Linked DNA regions of Homo sapiens: all the other regions are linked to region 1. Evidence: promoter capture Hi-C in 16 types of primary human blood cells and fetal thymus (Javierre and others, 2016). All regions are on one chromosome and are shown on one strand. The core of a region is centred on a gene start or on the middle of the fragment in contact, and the rest is flanking DNA. Distances in the headings are between cores, read along the strand shown.

Region 1 (3,734 bases), core at 717-3,216:
AGAAGGGAGTAAATTTTGATAGAGATGGTTTGAGGATATAGCTGTTGTCTTGATAGGCCAGAATAGATGATATTTTAAGAACTTTGGTTCTTCCCTGTAATTTATTCTAGGTCAGCAATTCATCCCTGGGCCTGAGAAGGCACTTTTTCAATCCTGTCATTTCTACAGCTAAGCAAATAACTCCCCAATAATGAGAAAAAGTACATAAATGTTTTGTGAATGATATACACAAATGATATACATTTGTGTATAGACACAAATGTAAGGACATATTTTTTATTATTCACTTAGAAAGTTTTTTTGTTTTTTTTTTTTTTTTTTAAGACAGGGACTTGTTCTGTCACCCAGATTTCAGTGTAGTGGTGCCATACCTCAGCCTCCAACTCCTGGACTCAAGCAATCCTTCTGCTTCAGGCTCCTGAGTAGCCGGAACTACAGGAGCACACCACGATATTCGGCTATTTTATTTTTTGTAGAGATAGTGTCTTGCTTTGTTGCCCAGCCTGGTCTCGAACTCCTGGGCTCAAGCGATTCTACCGCCTCGGCCTCCCAAAGTGCTGGGATTACAGACGTGAGCCACCGCGCCCAGCTGCTTTATGGATTTTTTTTTTTGGAGACAGAGTCTCGCTCTTGTTGCCCAGACTGGAGTGCAATGGTGTGACCTTGGCTCACTGCAACCTCCGCCTCCCGTGTTCAAGCGATTCTCCTGCCTCAGCCTCCCAAGTAGCTGGGATTACAGGCACCCGCCACCACACCACGTTAATTTTTTGTATTTTTAGTAGAGATGGGGTTTCATCATGTTGGCCAAGGCTGGTCTGGAACTCCTGACGTCAGGTGATCCACCCAACTCAGCCTTCCAAAGTGCTGGGATTACAGGGATGAGCCACCACGCCCGGCTTTTTTTTTTTTTTTTTTTTTTTTTTTCTGTTGAGATGGAGTCTCGCTCTGTCGCCAGGCTGGAGTGCAGTGGTGTGATCTCGGCTCACTGCAACCTCCGCCTCCCGGGTTCAAGCGATTCTCCTGCCTCAGCTTCCCGAGTAGCTGGGACTACAGGCGCGCGCCACCACCCCCAGCTAATTTTTGCATTTTTAGTAGAGACAGGGTTTCACCATGTTGGCCAGGATGGTCTCGATCTCTTGACCTCGTGATCCACTCGCCTCCGCCTCCCAAAGTGCTGGGATTACAGCCGTGGGCCACCGCGCCCAGCCCGCTTTATGGATTTTGCAAGTCATTTACTCCCTCTAAGCTTCAGTTTCCTCATCTGCAAAATTGGGAGGCCATGATTCTGGCAGTTATAACATTCCTGGGAGCAATGGAGGAGAATGTTATTTAGTAAGATGCCTGTGAGGAATTATGATGAGAGGATGGAGAAGGTGGGGTGTGTGCAATGGTGAAGAAGGGATCTGAGGACTGTGAGGCACGGCTGAGGGCTCAGGAAAGAGGCTCCCATTACAAATTTTAAGGCTATAGGACCCCACCCACACTTTTTGGGGGATCATATTCCACCTTTGTCCCGGCCCCGCCTCCGCCCCACCCTTCTCCCCCTCCCCTTTCTTTCCTTCCCCTCCCCTCAGGCTGAGAGGCGCCACACTTCTTATGGCCGCCACAGTGCTCCGCTTTCCACAGCTCGAGGGCTGCGCGCGCTCTCACGCTGCCACCTCACTCGCGTGTGGGCTCGCCCTCAGCCCCTTCCGATTGGCTCATTATGTAAGTGACGTAAGGGCTCCAGCCTCCCACTAACTTATCCCTGGCTTGCCCCGCCTCCTCCTGGCTTCTTTTGACGCCAGTGGAAACCTAACCTGCCCCGTCGCCGCCGTGCGGGAGGAGCCGGTAGAGCTGTCCAAACCAGGAAGGCGATGGCGATGGCGGTGGCGCGCACGCATGCACGCACGCACGCACGCCAGCGGCCGGCGGGGCCGCAGGCTCGCGCCCGGGCTCGCCCCGCGCCGCTCCAGAGGCTCGCGCACTCAGCAGGTTGGGCTGCGGCGGCGGCGGCAGCTGTGGAAGCTCAGGCGCTGCGCGTGAGAGGTCCCAGATACGTCTGCGGTTCCGGCTCCGCCACCCTCAGCTTCTCTTCCCCAGGTCTGGGAGCCGAGTGCGGAAGGAGGGAACGGCCCTAGCTTTGGGAAGCCAGAGGACACCCCTGGCTCCTGCCGACACCGCCCTCCTTCCCTTCCCAGCCGCGGGCCTCGCTCGGTGCTAGGCTACTCTGCCGGGAGGCGGCGGCGGCTGCCAGTCTGTGGAGAGTCCTGCTGCCCTCCAGCCGGGCTCCTCCACCGGGCCTTGCAGGGGCCGAGAGAGCTCGGTGCCCGCCCTTCCGCTCGCCTTTTTCGTCAGCTGGCTGGAGCAGCATCGGTCCGGGAGGTCTCTAGGCTGAGGCGGCGGCCGCTCCTCTAGTTCCACAATGTCCACGGGCGGAGACTTCGGGAATCCGCTGAGGAAATTCAAGCTGGTGTTCCTGGGGGAGCAAAGCGGTGAGTGCGTGGCTCCCCTACTCCTGGCAGCTGGCCGCAGCGTCCCCGCACCGCCCCCGGTGCGGCCCTTCCGTCCGCGGAGGCTCCCTGCCCGCCTCGCGTCCGCGCTCGTTGCCACCGCAGCCCTTCCCGATGTGCCCCCCGGTGCCACTGGCTCTTCGCCAGTGGCCGAGTTTTTACCCTGTTCCCCGGGTTCTTCAATCCTCGACTCCCCGGCTCCGTTCCCCGCAGTCCGGCCATCTCCGGTCGATCTGCCCTCCCTCCCCAGACCTCACCCCGCCCAGCCTCTTGTCCATCCCTTTCTTCCTCCGGTCTCGGTCATTGCCCGTACCCCGGCCCCCTTTCTTGAGCCCCACCCTTATTCCTTGCTCTTTTCCCAGTTCCTCAGCTCTGTGAGGCCCACTCAGGGAAGCCCCACTCCCGAGAGCGGGCCCTCTTCAACCTTGGCCAAGGAGGGTGGGATCTGGGCGTTGTTTTCCCCAGAGGCTTGGCCCTGCGAAGTGCTGATGTCGTGGAAGGTGGGAAGGGGTGGTAGTAGAAAAAATTAAATGATTTTCACCTGGGTGGGAAATTAGTCTGGGCCATAGAGGAAACATCTGAATTGGAGACGACTTGAGCATGGGGTGGTTGGGGGTGAAAGGGGTAGCGTCGGCAGTGGAGATTTTTGCCCCTTAGGTTAGATGGGGCTGTGGCTTGTCGGAAAACCTCATTTTGTTCTCTTGACTTTCATCACTGACAATTCTTTTGGCAATGTTGATGATTTTTCAATCTCTGCCAGATGCTATGTCATGATCATTTTACTTGGAATTTTTCTCATCTCACCTCCCCTTTTTCTCTTTTCAACATGAAGCAGCGTCTGAGTCTCATGGTGGTACAAAAGGGAATTACTGGGGAAATGTTAATTATTCATTCCTTCTTGAGTATTTTCCAATGATATATTGAGGATTCATGTGAGAGAAGGCTTGGAATAACAAACATCTTTGTTTTGTCGGATTTCCTTTGGAAAATGGAGTAGAGTAGGAACAGACTCATCATCTAGTTACCTAAATTAGATTTAAATACCATTTGGGCTAAATAATTCTTTTATGCTTAATATTCTGTACTGTCTGATGAGTGAAATTGTTATGTCATTTACCTGGTCAGGTTCTGCTGTCACTGTACTTTTGTATTAGATACTAGATCCTAATTTTGTGATGGTTGTATCTACGATTACTTCTTGTAGTAATTCCAGTTTTATGCTGTATTATACAAACTTGACAC
Region 2 (3,734 bases), core at 713-3,212, 190 kb before region 1:
TCAACCTCCTGCAGCCTCGACTTCCTGGGCTTAAGCAATCCTCCTGCCTCAGCCTCGCAAGTAGCTGGAAACCCAGGCACACACCACCACATCAGGCTAATTTTTAAATTTTTTGTAGAGACGAGGTCTTGCCATATTGTGCAAACAGGTCTTGAACTCATGGGCTCAAGTGATCCTTCCATCTCAGCTTCCCAAAGTGCTGGGATTATGGACATGAGCCAACACTCCTGGCCCTCACCAACTCTTGATGTCAAGTTTTAAAACGTTTGCCAATATAGTAGGCATAAAGTGGCATCTCATTGTGGATTTTAATTTGCATTTCTTGGTTGAGTATCTTTTCATACTTATTGGCCATTTGTTTTTCCTCATTGTGAAACACCTATTTATGTTTTTGCCCATTTTTTTCTATTTGACTATCCTTTTTACAAACTGACAGGCCGGGCATAGTGGCTCATGCCTGTAATCCCAGCACTTGGGGAGGCCGAGGTGGATGGATCACCTGAGGTCAGGAGTACAAGACCAGCCTGACCAACATGGAGAAACCCCATCTCTACTAAAAATACAAAATTAGCTGGACATGGTGGCGCATGCCTGTAATCCCAGCTACTTGGGAGGCTGAGGCAGAAGAATAGCTTGAACCTGGGAGGCAGAGGTTGCGGTGAGCAGAGATTGTGCCACTTCACTCCAGCCTGGGCAACAAGAACGAAACTCCGTCTCAAAAAAAAAAAAAAAAAAAAAAACTGACTAGTGGCTTTTTATGTTTTTTGAAAACAAACTCTTTGTTGATAATATGAAATACGAATCCTTTCTTCAACTTGAAGCTTTTTTCACCTTTTTAAAAGTCAAATGTATCAATCTTTTCCTTTCTGGTTACACGTTTTGTGTGTGTCTAGTTTAAGAAATATTTCCTTATGTGAGGGCATAAAGATCTTCACCTATATGATCTTCCGAAAGTCCATTTCACATTTAAATATTTAACACACCTAGAGTTTATTTTTTTGTATATGGAGCAAGATAGTATCTTTTCTGAAAGATATCCAACTGCTCAGATCATTTATTTAATTGTCCATTGTCTTCCCACCGATCTGTACTGACTGCTGTGTTAGATATGAAATTTCCACATATGCATGGGTTGGTGTCTGGAACTACTGTCCATTGGTCTATCACTGGGGCAATGTGTTGCTAGAAGAGCTGAGGCAAGTCTTGCTTGTCTGACATAACGTAAGAGAGTCTTGGAACATGTCCTGGGTCCAGGGTCTAAAACCCCTCGTGGCCTTTGGAACACCAAGCTCTGTGCCAAAGGGTGGAAGGCTGCCCTGCCACACCACAATCTAAGCCCAGGGCATAAAACCCCTCGTGGCTTGGATGCAATCCAGGGCTCAGGGAATAAAACCCCTTGTGGCCTCTGGAATGTGTCCAGACTTGCTGGCTCCTTGCTTCTTGCTGTCCCAGGTTTGTAAATTGATTGTTATCTTGAGATAGAAAAACACGTTCTCCATTATCTCGAGTAGCAGAGCATACTCCATATGCTTAAAAGAAAATGCTAAACTGCCACAGCTATAGGTCAAACGCTTGATGCACCGCTTCCTTTCTAACCCCATGTCCTCACGTCCTCACCACCTGCTTCTGTTTGATCACCAATAAAGAGCGTGGGCTCCCAGAGCTCAGGGCCTTCGCAGCTGCCATACTGGTGTTGGCCCCCTGGACCCACTTTATGCATTCTTGTCTTGTCTCATTCCTTCGACTCTGCCAGACTTTGTAGCCCCCACAGCCTGGTGTTGGGTCTGATCACTCCAACATTTCTGGCACCCAATGTGGGGCAACGAAAACCCCTGTGAAGGAACGCTAGAGCATGCGGAAGCAGAGGACAATTGTCAGAGGACACCAGAGGATGACTGAAAGAAGCTCGGCAGGTAAGCTGGACGCTTGGAAGAACCAGGGTAACAATGGGACAGAATGAAAGCAAATATTCTGCTTATTTAAATTTCTTAAGGCATTTATTACGGAGAGGGGGAGTGAAAGTTAGTACTCAAAGTCTATTAACACTTTTCAGCACAGTAGAGCAGTTCTGCCCATGGCTTCCGGAACAAGGGACTATGGAGTTGGATGAATGGGAAAGAACTGGCAGAGATTTTAAAAAGGCATATAAAGATGGAGCCAAAATTCCAGTTTCTGTTTGGTCAGTGTGGGCGTTAATAAAGGCAGCTCCTGAGCCATTTCAAACAGATGATGAGGCAGATTCAGATGAAGAAGAGGAGGATGAGTGTAAGAAACTAACATCAGATTCTGAACGCGAGGCACAGGAGCCGGAGGAAATCATAGAAAAGAAAGGAAAGCTGAAAAAGACATATTTTACTGGTCCATCAGCTCCGCCTGCTGAATTAAGTGAATGGCCACCTCCTCCCTCTCCCACAATGGGTGAGAAAGTGAAGCAGCTGTAAAAATTACTGCTCCTGTAGTGACAACATTAAAATCTGAAGCAACTGGTGGTGCTATACAAAATTCTATTCAGAAGGCTAGAGCTGAAGGACACCTTGAAGCATGGCAATTTCCAGTTACTATAACCCAACAAGGAGGACAGAATACAGCTAATTGGGCCACTTTTCCTTTTAAGTTATTAAAAGAATTCAAGCAAGCCATTAGTCAATATGGGCCAAATTCTCCTTTTGTGTGAACTTTACTAAAAAATGTGGCTCTTGATAATAGGTTAGTACCATATGATTGGGATACTTTAACAAAATCTGTTCTCACTCTGTCTCAGTACTTGCAATTTAAAACTTGGTGGGCTAATGAAGCTCAAACTCAGGCAAGAGAAAACACACAGGCACAGCCGCCTGTGCCTGTGTCCTCTGAACAGTTAATGGGGGTCAGCCCTAACAGGGGTCGATTAGACAATCAAGCATTAATGGAGGATGTTGCCATTGCTCAGTTATGCTCTGTATGCTTAAGGGCATGGGAAAGAATAAATGTTATAGAGGAAAAATATCCATCTTTCAGTTCTGTCTGACAAGGAACCATATACTGATTTTATTGCTCGGCTCCAGGAGGCTGTGTATAAAGCCATAACTGACAAAACAACCTCAAGATGTTGTAATAAAGCTTCTTGCATACGATAATGCCAATGCAGAATGTCAAACTGCTATTCGACCTAGGAGAGGGAAGCCTCATTTGGCTGAGTATATTAAGGCTTGTGATGGCATTGGGGGTAACTTACATGAGGCTACTCTTTTAGCTCAGGCTATGGCTGGATTAAAAGCCGGAAAAAATATGCCTCGTTTCTCGGGTTCTTGTTTTAATTGTGGGCAATTTGGACACACAAAAAAGGAATGTAAAAAAGGAAATCAACAGGCAAAGGTTACTACCAGTAAGCAGCAAAAAAAGTTCCGGTATCTGCCCCCGATGTAAAAAGGGAAATCACTGGGCAAATCAGTGTCATTCTAAATTTAGCAAAGATGGACAAACTCTCTTTTGGGCCCCTCAACAAACCGAGGCGTATCTGGCACAGCCAGTGCCCTTACAAACGTACAATTGTCCCCCGCCACAGCAGGCGGTGCTGCCGTAGACCTCTGCAGCACAAGTCCTGTCTCCCTACTTCCTGGGGAGCCACCAAAGAAGGTCCCCACGGGAGTTAGGGGCCCTTTACCCTCAGGATCAGCTGGTCTATTGCTTGGAAGGGCTAGTTTAAATTTAAGAGGTGCCACTGTACATACAGGAATAATTGATTCTGATTATAC
Region 3 (3,734 bases), core at 800-3,299, 160 kb before region 1:
AGAAAGCTGGTAGCGTCGTACAAGACCGTCTCGACAGCATGTGTAGATCTGCTTCTCCCATGTGGCTACCTAAAACACAAGAATTCACAGTTCAAAGGAAGCCTGGGATTCTTCCATTTCAAAAAGATGGAGGCTTATGATTGACACACACTAGTCCCATGGAGTCTGAGAAGGCTTTATGAAGGCAACAGAATTACATCCATAATTATGTGCTTACAAAAATTGTTGGCCCATAGTGATGGATGCATCCCAATCACCAATGGTTGGGATGCACCATGACTATATAACAGAGAAACTAATTGGCCCAAGTGGAAAGCAAACCCATTAGTATTGTTCAGGTTTAGCACAGATGGTCTGCCTCTAGGGAGGAGATGGTTCAGAGATGGGCTTGACTATTCTTGAACCTTATAAAATTGGATGCAAAAATGTTCTGAATATGTGTCTTTTTTTCTGAGGAGGATTTCATCAACTCCTCAAGGAAAACAGCATGAATTCTGGAGTTAGTCTCAGCTTTACTACCAACTAGCTGCATGACCTAGGGCAACTTTCTCAACCCCCCAGGCCCCAGTTGCCTCATTTGTACAATGGAAATGTGTTGATTCAAAATATGGAACACTACACAAGAATTTTGTTTGTTTGTTTTTTGAGACAGACTCTTGCTCCGTCGCTCAGGCTGGAGTGCAGTGACGCCATCTTGGCTCACTGCAAGCTCCGCCTCCCGGGTTCACGCCATTCTCCTGCCTCAGCCTCCCAAGTAGCTGGGACTACACACACCCACCACCACGCCTGGCTAATTTTTTGTATTGTTAGTAGAGACAGGGTTTCACCGTGTTGGCCAGGATGGTCTCAATCTCCTGACCTCGTGATTCGCACCCCCTCCGCCTCCCAAAGTGCTGGGCATGAGCCACCACGCCCGGCCGGAACACTACGCAAGAATTTTTAAAAATGAAATAGATGGCTGGGCGCGGTGGCTCACGCCTGTAATCCGAGCACTTTGGGAGGCTGAGGCAGGCCTCAGTCGGGAGTTCAAGACCAGCCTGACCAACATGGAGAAACCTCGTCTCTACTAAAAATACAAAATTAGCCGGGTGTGGTGGCGCATGCCTGTAATCCCAGCTGCTCGAGAGGCTGAGGCAGGAGAATCGCTTGAACCTGGGAGGCGGAGGTTGCTGTGGGCTGAGATCGCGCCATTGCACTCCAGCCTGGGCAACAAGAGCGAAACTCCATCTCAAAAAAAAGAAAGAAAGAAAGAAAGAAATAGATCTATATGCATTTACCTGGAAACAGCTCTAAGATGGTAATTAAAAAAAAGTCACAGGGCAATATATAGAGATAGTCTCAATTACGTACAAACTGAAGATAAAAGTATATTATTTACATTAATACATAAAGATGTAAGTGTGCAAATTCTCTGAAAATAGTCTTGAAAAATATGTGCCAAACTTTTAATGCTAGTTACTTCTGGAAAAGAGAAAGGGAACCAAAAAGGTCGTAAAGGAGACTTTTAAATCTGTATCATTCTGTATTGTTTGAACTTTTACAGATATTAATTGTACAACTTTTTTTAAATTATAGGAAAAAATAGGAATAGTAATACCTACACCTCAACAAATAGTAACAAAGATTACATGAGATAACGTATATAAAACGTTCAGCACAGTGTCTGGTCAATAAATATTCCCCTTTTGTTTTTCTCTATTTGAATCAAATGAAAAAATCAGTCTAGAAGTCTTAATAATAATAAGAATGAATAATATTTATAGAATGTATTTACAAAGAGTTTTCAGATTACTATCTTTACAGATGAATTGACAGACTAGTGAGGTAAAGTAAGTTTTTAAGTTTCTAGAGCTAGTAAGTGATGAAGTCACTTTTTTTTTTTTTTTTTGAGACAGGGTCTCACTCTGTTGCCCAGACTAGAGTGCAATGGTACAATCACAGCTCACTGCAGCCTCAACTTCCCAGGCCCAAGCAATCGTCCCATCTTGGCCTCCCAAATGAGTAGCTGGGACTACAGGTGTGTGTGCCACCATGCCCAGCTAATTTTTCTGTATTTTTTGTAGAGACGGGGGTCTCATCTTATTGCCTAGGCTGGTTTCAAACTCCTGGGCTCAAGTGATCCACCTGCTTCAGCCTCCAAAAGTGCTGGGGTTACAGCTGTCAGCCAGAAGTCACTTGTTTTTTTTTTTTTTTTTTTGAGATGGAGTCTCACTCTGTTGCCCAGGCTGGAGTGTAGTGGTACGATCTTGAGGCTCACTGCAGCCTCCACCTCCCAGGTTCAAGCGATTCTCCTGCCTCAGCCTCCCAAGTAACTGGAACTACAGGCATGTACCACCACGCCCAGCTAATTTTTTTGTATTTTTAGTAGAGACGGGGTTTCACCATGCTGGCCAGGCTGGTCTTGAACTCCTGACCTCAAGTGATCCACCTGTCTCGGCCTCCCAAAGTACTGGGATTACAGGCGTGAGCCACCATGCCTGGCCCAGAAATCACTTCTGAGTTAAGCTCTTGATTTCTTGCCATCCTACCACACTGCTTATACAATAAGCACTATTTTATCATCCCTAATGACCACAAGGTATCTGGATTCAGTCTCATAAAAGCCCTAGATCTCTCATGAGAATCACCCAGGTCTGGTGTCGTCTCAGGCCTGTACCTTGTACACAGGGTCACAGTCAGCCCCAGTGAGCTCAGTGACATAGTCTAAGTCTTGCTGGACAATAAAACAGCTTCCATCACCTGAAAGGCAGAAAGAAAATTCATATAACTAAGAGAAAACTGCATCCAGAGTTTAAAAACTCAGTATTTTTATTTGCTTCTGTAGATCACTAGTGTAAAGAAGATGGTCCAAAGACCCAGAATGGCAAATAGATCTTATTACGTGGGCCAACTTTTTTTTTGTTTTTTGAGACAGAGTTTCGTTCTTTTTGCCCAGGCTAGAGTACAATGGCATGATCTCAGCAAACTGCAACCTCCACCTCCCAGGTTCAAGCAATTCTCCTGCCTCAGCCTCCCAAGCAGCTGGGATTACAGGTGCCCACCACCACGCCTGGCTAATTTTTGTAGAGACGGGGTTTCACCATGTTGGCCAGGCTGGTCTCAAACTCCTGACCTCAGGTGATCCACCTGCCTCAGCCTCCCAAGGTGCTGGGATTACAAGCGTGAGCCACCATACCCGGCCTATGTGGGCCAATTATGATGATCTATAGTGGCTGCCTAGAATGCTGAGCTGGGCTGGATTTGAAGAGCAAGTGCAAGTTCTGTGGGAAAAAGAGATGTCTTTGATTAGCAATGCCTGCCAAAGGCACAGAGCAAGCAACCACAGGTGTGTGTGTGTGTGTGTGTGTGTATTTATAAACTTATCCTAGATTATATTTAATAGGGAATGTCTAAAAAATGTCTTTAACATTTTTTAAAGAAACATTTGTGTAGATATTCCCTATTAAAATGTTCCCAGATTATTCCTCAATCTGTAAATTTGACTGTATACACTAGGAGAAAGAGGACAGTTACACTAAGAAAGTAAAAGTGTATCTAATTCTTAAAAGAGCATGGACAAATGAAACAAATGAATCATAGGGGTGATCTATAAACTGCTTAATAAGGTGATTTCTTTTTGTTAATATAAAAGTAGTAAAAATACAAAAAAAATTAGCCGAGCATGGTAGTGCATGCCTGTAATCCCAGATACTCAGGAGGCTGAGGCAGGAGAATCGCTTGAACCCGGGAAGCAG
Region 4 (3,734 bases), core at 504-3,003, 140 kb before region 1:
CCTTGCCAATATGGTGAAACCCAGTTTCTTCTAAAAATACAAAAATTAGCCGGGCATGGTGGCGTGTACCTGTAGTCCCAGCTACTTGGGAAGCTGAGGCAGAAGAATCACTTGAACCCAGGAGGCGGAGGTTGCACTGAGCTGAGATCACGCCACTGCACACCAGCCTGGGCAACAGAGTGAGATTCTGTCTCAAAAAAAAAAAGAAAGCAGCAATTTCAAGAATGCCTTTCCAAGAGAAGCAGCCATAGCTAAGACTTACCAGAAGCTGCAAAAAGCTTTACTGTTATTTTTGTTTTGTTTTGTTGAGATGGGATCTCACTATATTGCCCAGACTAGAGTGCCATTGCTATTCACAGGCACAATTATATCACACTGCAGCCCTGAACTCCTGGCCTCAAGAGATCTACCTACCTTTGCCTTCCAAATAGCTGGGATTACAGACATGCACCACTGCACCCAGCTGGAAAAGGCTTTAGATATCAAACCAAATAGATACAAGTCTTCACCATACAAACCAGAACACAAAAGCATTTGCCTTCAAGAAAAGATTCAGCAGAATCACATACGAGCATCCCAGCCAAAGTCTGGAAATACGAATAACATTAGATGAAACTATTCCTGAAATAAATATTTGTAAGAAATAAAGCAAATTTCATATTCCCAGGTGTATATTCTTAACAAGTGTATTTATTTAGTTTCTCTATCATATTAAGCTGTTTTAATGTTGCTAGGGAGCAATATACATACATGCGTATATGGGAAAATTAATGGCTATGACTCAGATCTCCGAAAAAAAAATAAGCCTTGAAGCACCTCCTATTACTTGGAGGCGGCATAGCCAATTTCTAAGAAAGTATTTAAGACTTGGAAAATAATGGCGCAAGTGCTGATACTGCAACCTGGTTTCTTAAAATTATTCTATAAATGTAAGCATTTCCACTACCATTATGAGAAAAAAAATAAAAATAAAGCCAACTAGTTAACTAAAATAGGGTGTAATTTGGTCTCAATGTTTCACTGATTATGAAAGATGTAATGCTTATTATAAAGAATTAGGATTATAAATGTATATCCCCAAATTTCACAAGCTTACTTAAATGGCCTGGGCAATTTAACTTCAAACTGATTAAAGTGCATTTTAGAATTACTTATTGAACTCATATGTTACAATCACAAAACTACTTTTAGTCTACCTTTCCACTTGAAAAATTCAGCATACACAGAAACCTTACCTCTGCTTGTTAATTAAGTAGAGAACAAACTAATCCTTTAGTTATATATATTTAAATACACACACACACACAATTGGGGGACCAATTTATGTATATATATATACTTTTTTTTTTTTTGAGACGGAGTCTCGCTCTGTTGCCCAGGCTGGAGTGAAGTAGTGCAATCTTGGCTCAATGCAACCTCTGCCTCCCAGGTTCAAGTGATTCTCCTGCCTCAGCTTTCCAAGTAGCTGGGATTACAGGCGCACACCACTACACCTGGCTAATTTTTGTATTTTTTGTAGAGACAGGGTTTTACCATGTTTGCCAGGCTGGTTTTGAACTCCTGACCTCAGGTGATCCTCCCACCTCGGCCTCCCAAAGTACTGGGATTACAGGGGTGAGACGCTGCGCCCGGCCAATTTTTTTTAATGTTTCTTTTTATATGGGTTCATGGCTCTGAACAAAATGCTTCAAAATCTCATAAGAGATTTTTTTTTTTTTTGAAGACAGAGTTTCATTTGTTGGCCAGGCTGGAGTGCAATGGTGTGATCTCAGCTCACTGCAACCTCTGCCTCCTGAGTTCAAGCGATTCTCCTGCCTCAGACTCCCAAGTAGCTAGGATTACAGGCTCCAGCCACCACACCCAGCTCATTTTTGTATTTTTAGTAGAGACTGGGTTTCACCATGTTGGCCAGGCTGGTCTTGAACTCCTGACCTCAGATGATCCACCCGCCTCGGCCTCCCAAAGTGCTAGGATTACAGGCATGAGCCACAGTGCCCGGACCAAGATTTTTTTTCTTTTTAAGTCACACAAAGCAACTTGGAAGTCATTTGGTTGGAGACAGTGATGATCGGTCAATCTATAGGTTGCTAAGCTATCAGATCTATCTATATATACGCTGTTAAGCTATCAGAGATCAATCCTGATTTTTGCCACGCTGTGGAAGAATGGGCAACCCCAAACCTGGGGCTACTTTATTCAACGAACTGGAAAGGAGCCTTTGTGACCTGATAAGAGGCCAGCCTGGATCTGACTTCATGTCATTTCTTCTAAAGTATATCATTCCGTTCAATCTACTAAAAACTCCCTTCTCAAGAAAAAAGTCAGGGCTGTTATACTCTGCAGAAGGCACTACTCTACCCCAGGACTTTCTCACAAGGCCAAAAGAATGGAACAACTACATGAATAAAAGCTTATATCTAAATTGATTTAACATTCTAGGCCGGGCGCAGTGGCTCACGCCTGTAATCCCGGCACTTTGGGAGGCCACGGCAGGCGATCACAAGGTCAGGAGTTTGAGACCAGCCTGGCCAATATGGTGAAACCCAGTCTCTACTAAAAATACAAAAAAAAATTAGCCGGGCATGGTGGCGCATGCCTGTAATCCCAGTTACTGGGGAGGCTGCGGCAGGAGAATTGCTTGAACCAAGGAGGCAGAGGTTGCAGTGAGCCAAGATCGCGCCACTGCACCCCAGCCTAGGAGACAGAGTGAGACTCCATCTCAAAAAAAATAATAATAAATAAATAAATAACATTCTACTATTTACTCTAAGCTAAAGGTCCATACATATTCTTAGGGAGAATTAAGGAATGTTGGGAGACTTAGGATTCTGTAAAGGGAACAATAATTGCAGTGATCCAAAGGTATTTATAAACTGGATGTGCACTGATGTTGAATATGCATCTTGTTAATTAAGTTCAACATGCTGAGTCATGACTTGTTCCACTGAAATGTTTTCCTGTGCCCACACCTTCAGAGGGATGGCCAGATCGGAGGTGAAGCTTGCACTGTTCCTCTAGACTACTTTGGCTCCTGGACTCCCCAGATCTGTAGGCCATTCTGACTCCTTCAATCTCTCAGTTCTTCAGGAGGTGATGAGTTCTTCAGTAATGTAAGGAAGGCTCTGAATATTGTTTCTATTCCCTCTCAATGTACCCGTTTTCTTACATCATGGAAGTAAACCATTTATGTACTTAGGTTAATGTGTGTGTTTGCTAAAACATCAGCATGTAATCTGGCAAAATGTTATAAAGAAATATTAAAACTTAAAACTTGGGCCAGGCGCAGTGGCTCATACCTGTAATCCCAGCACTTTGGGAGGCCAAGGTAGGCAGATCACTTGAGGCCAGTTTAAGACCAGCCCAGCCAACACAGCGAAACCCCATCTCTACTAAAAAATACAAAAATTAGTTGGATGTGGTGGTGCACGCCTGTGATCCCAGCTACTTGAGAAGCTGAGGCACAAGGATCGCATGAGCCTGGGATGGGGAGGTTGCAGTGAGCCGAGCTGGCATCACTGCACTCCAGACTGGGCAACAAGCGAAACTAAAAAAAAAAAAAAAAAAAGGCAAGGCGCAGTGGCTAATGCCTGTTATCCCAGCACTTTGGGAGGCCGAGGCTGGTGGATCACCCTGAGGTCAAGAGTTTGAGACCAGCCTGACCAATATGGTGAAACCCCATCTCTACTAAAAATACAAAAATTAGCCAGGTGTGGGGCGTGTACCCGTAGTCCCAG

Evidence for each region. The method cuts DNA at HindIII sites, captures the fragments that hold promoters and counts their contacts. A CHiCAGO score of 5 or more calls a contact.
Region 2: a fragment that was not itself captured here is called in contact with the fragment with the promoter of RAB6A in region 1 in 1 of 17 cell types (M2 macrophages); the score reaches 5.0 in M2 macrophages.
Region 3: a contact is called between a fragment that was not itself captured here and the fragment with the promoter of RAB6A in region 1, in 1 of 17 cell types (M2 macrophages). The highest score is 7.4, in M2 macrophages.
Region 4: a fragment that was not itself captured here is called in contact with the fragment with the promoter of RAB6A in region 1 in 1 of 17 cell types (M2 macrophages); the score reaches 7.9 in M2 macrophages.

The regions. Positions count from the first base shown.
Region 1 is chr11:73,759,306-73,763,039 of GRCh38, reverse strand. RAB6A (RAB6A, member RAS oncogene family) reads left to right here and starts at 1,966. Exons shown (of 8, transcript NM_198896.2): 1 at 1,966-2,474. The coding sequence starts at 2,405. LOC124902711 (a long non-coding RNA gene) reads right to left here and starts at 1,882. Exons shown (of 2, transcript XR_007062775.1): 1 at 1,800-1,882; 2 at 1-1,303. RefSeq lists silencers at 1,359-1,548, 1,709-2,018 and an enhancer at 2,315-2,815. The HindIII fragment of the contact is 8,881 bases long and covers 1,249-3,734 here.
Region 2 is chr11:73,944,917-73,948,650 of GRCh38, reverse strand. No RefSeq gene overlaps it. Among named protein-coding and RNA genes, the nearest start is that of DNAJB13, 4.2 kb to the left of the region's middle. The HindIII fragment of the contact is 2,278 bases long and covers 824-3,101 here.
Region 3 is chr11:73,923,620-73,927,353 of GRCh38, reverse strand. It overlaps PAAF1 (proteasomal ATPase associated factor 1), which reads right to left. Exons shown (of 12, transcript NM_025155.3): 11 at 2,657-2,739; 12 at 1-69. Among named protein-coding and RNA genes, the nearest start is that of DNAJB13, 26 kb to the left of the region's middle. RefSeq lists an enhancer at 453-952. The HindIII fragment of the contact is 5,817 bases long and covers 1-3,734 here.
Region 4 is chr11:73,901,702-73,905,435 of GRCh38, reverse strand. All of the region lies in intron 6 of PAAF1 (proteasomal ATPase associated factor 1), which reads right to left. Among named protein-coding and RNA genes, the nearest start is that of PAAF1, 27 kb to the right of the region's middle. The HindIII fragment of the contact is 1,319 bases long and covers 1,094-2,412 here.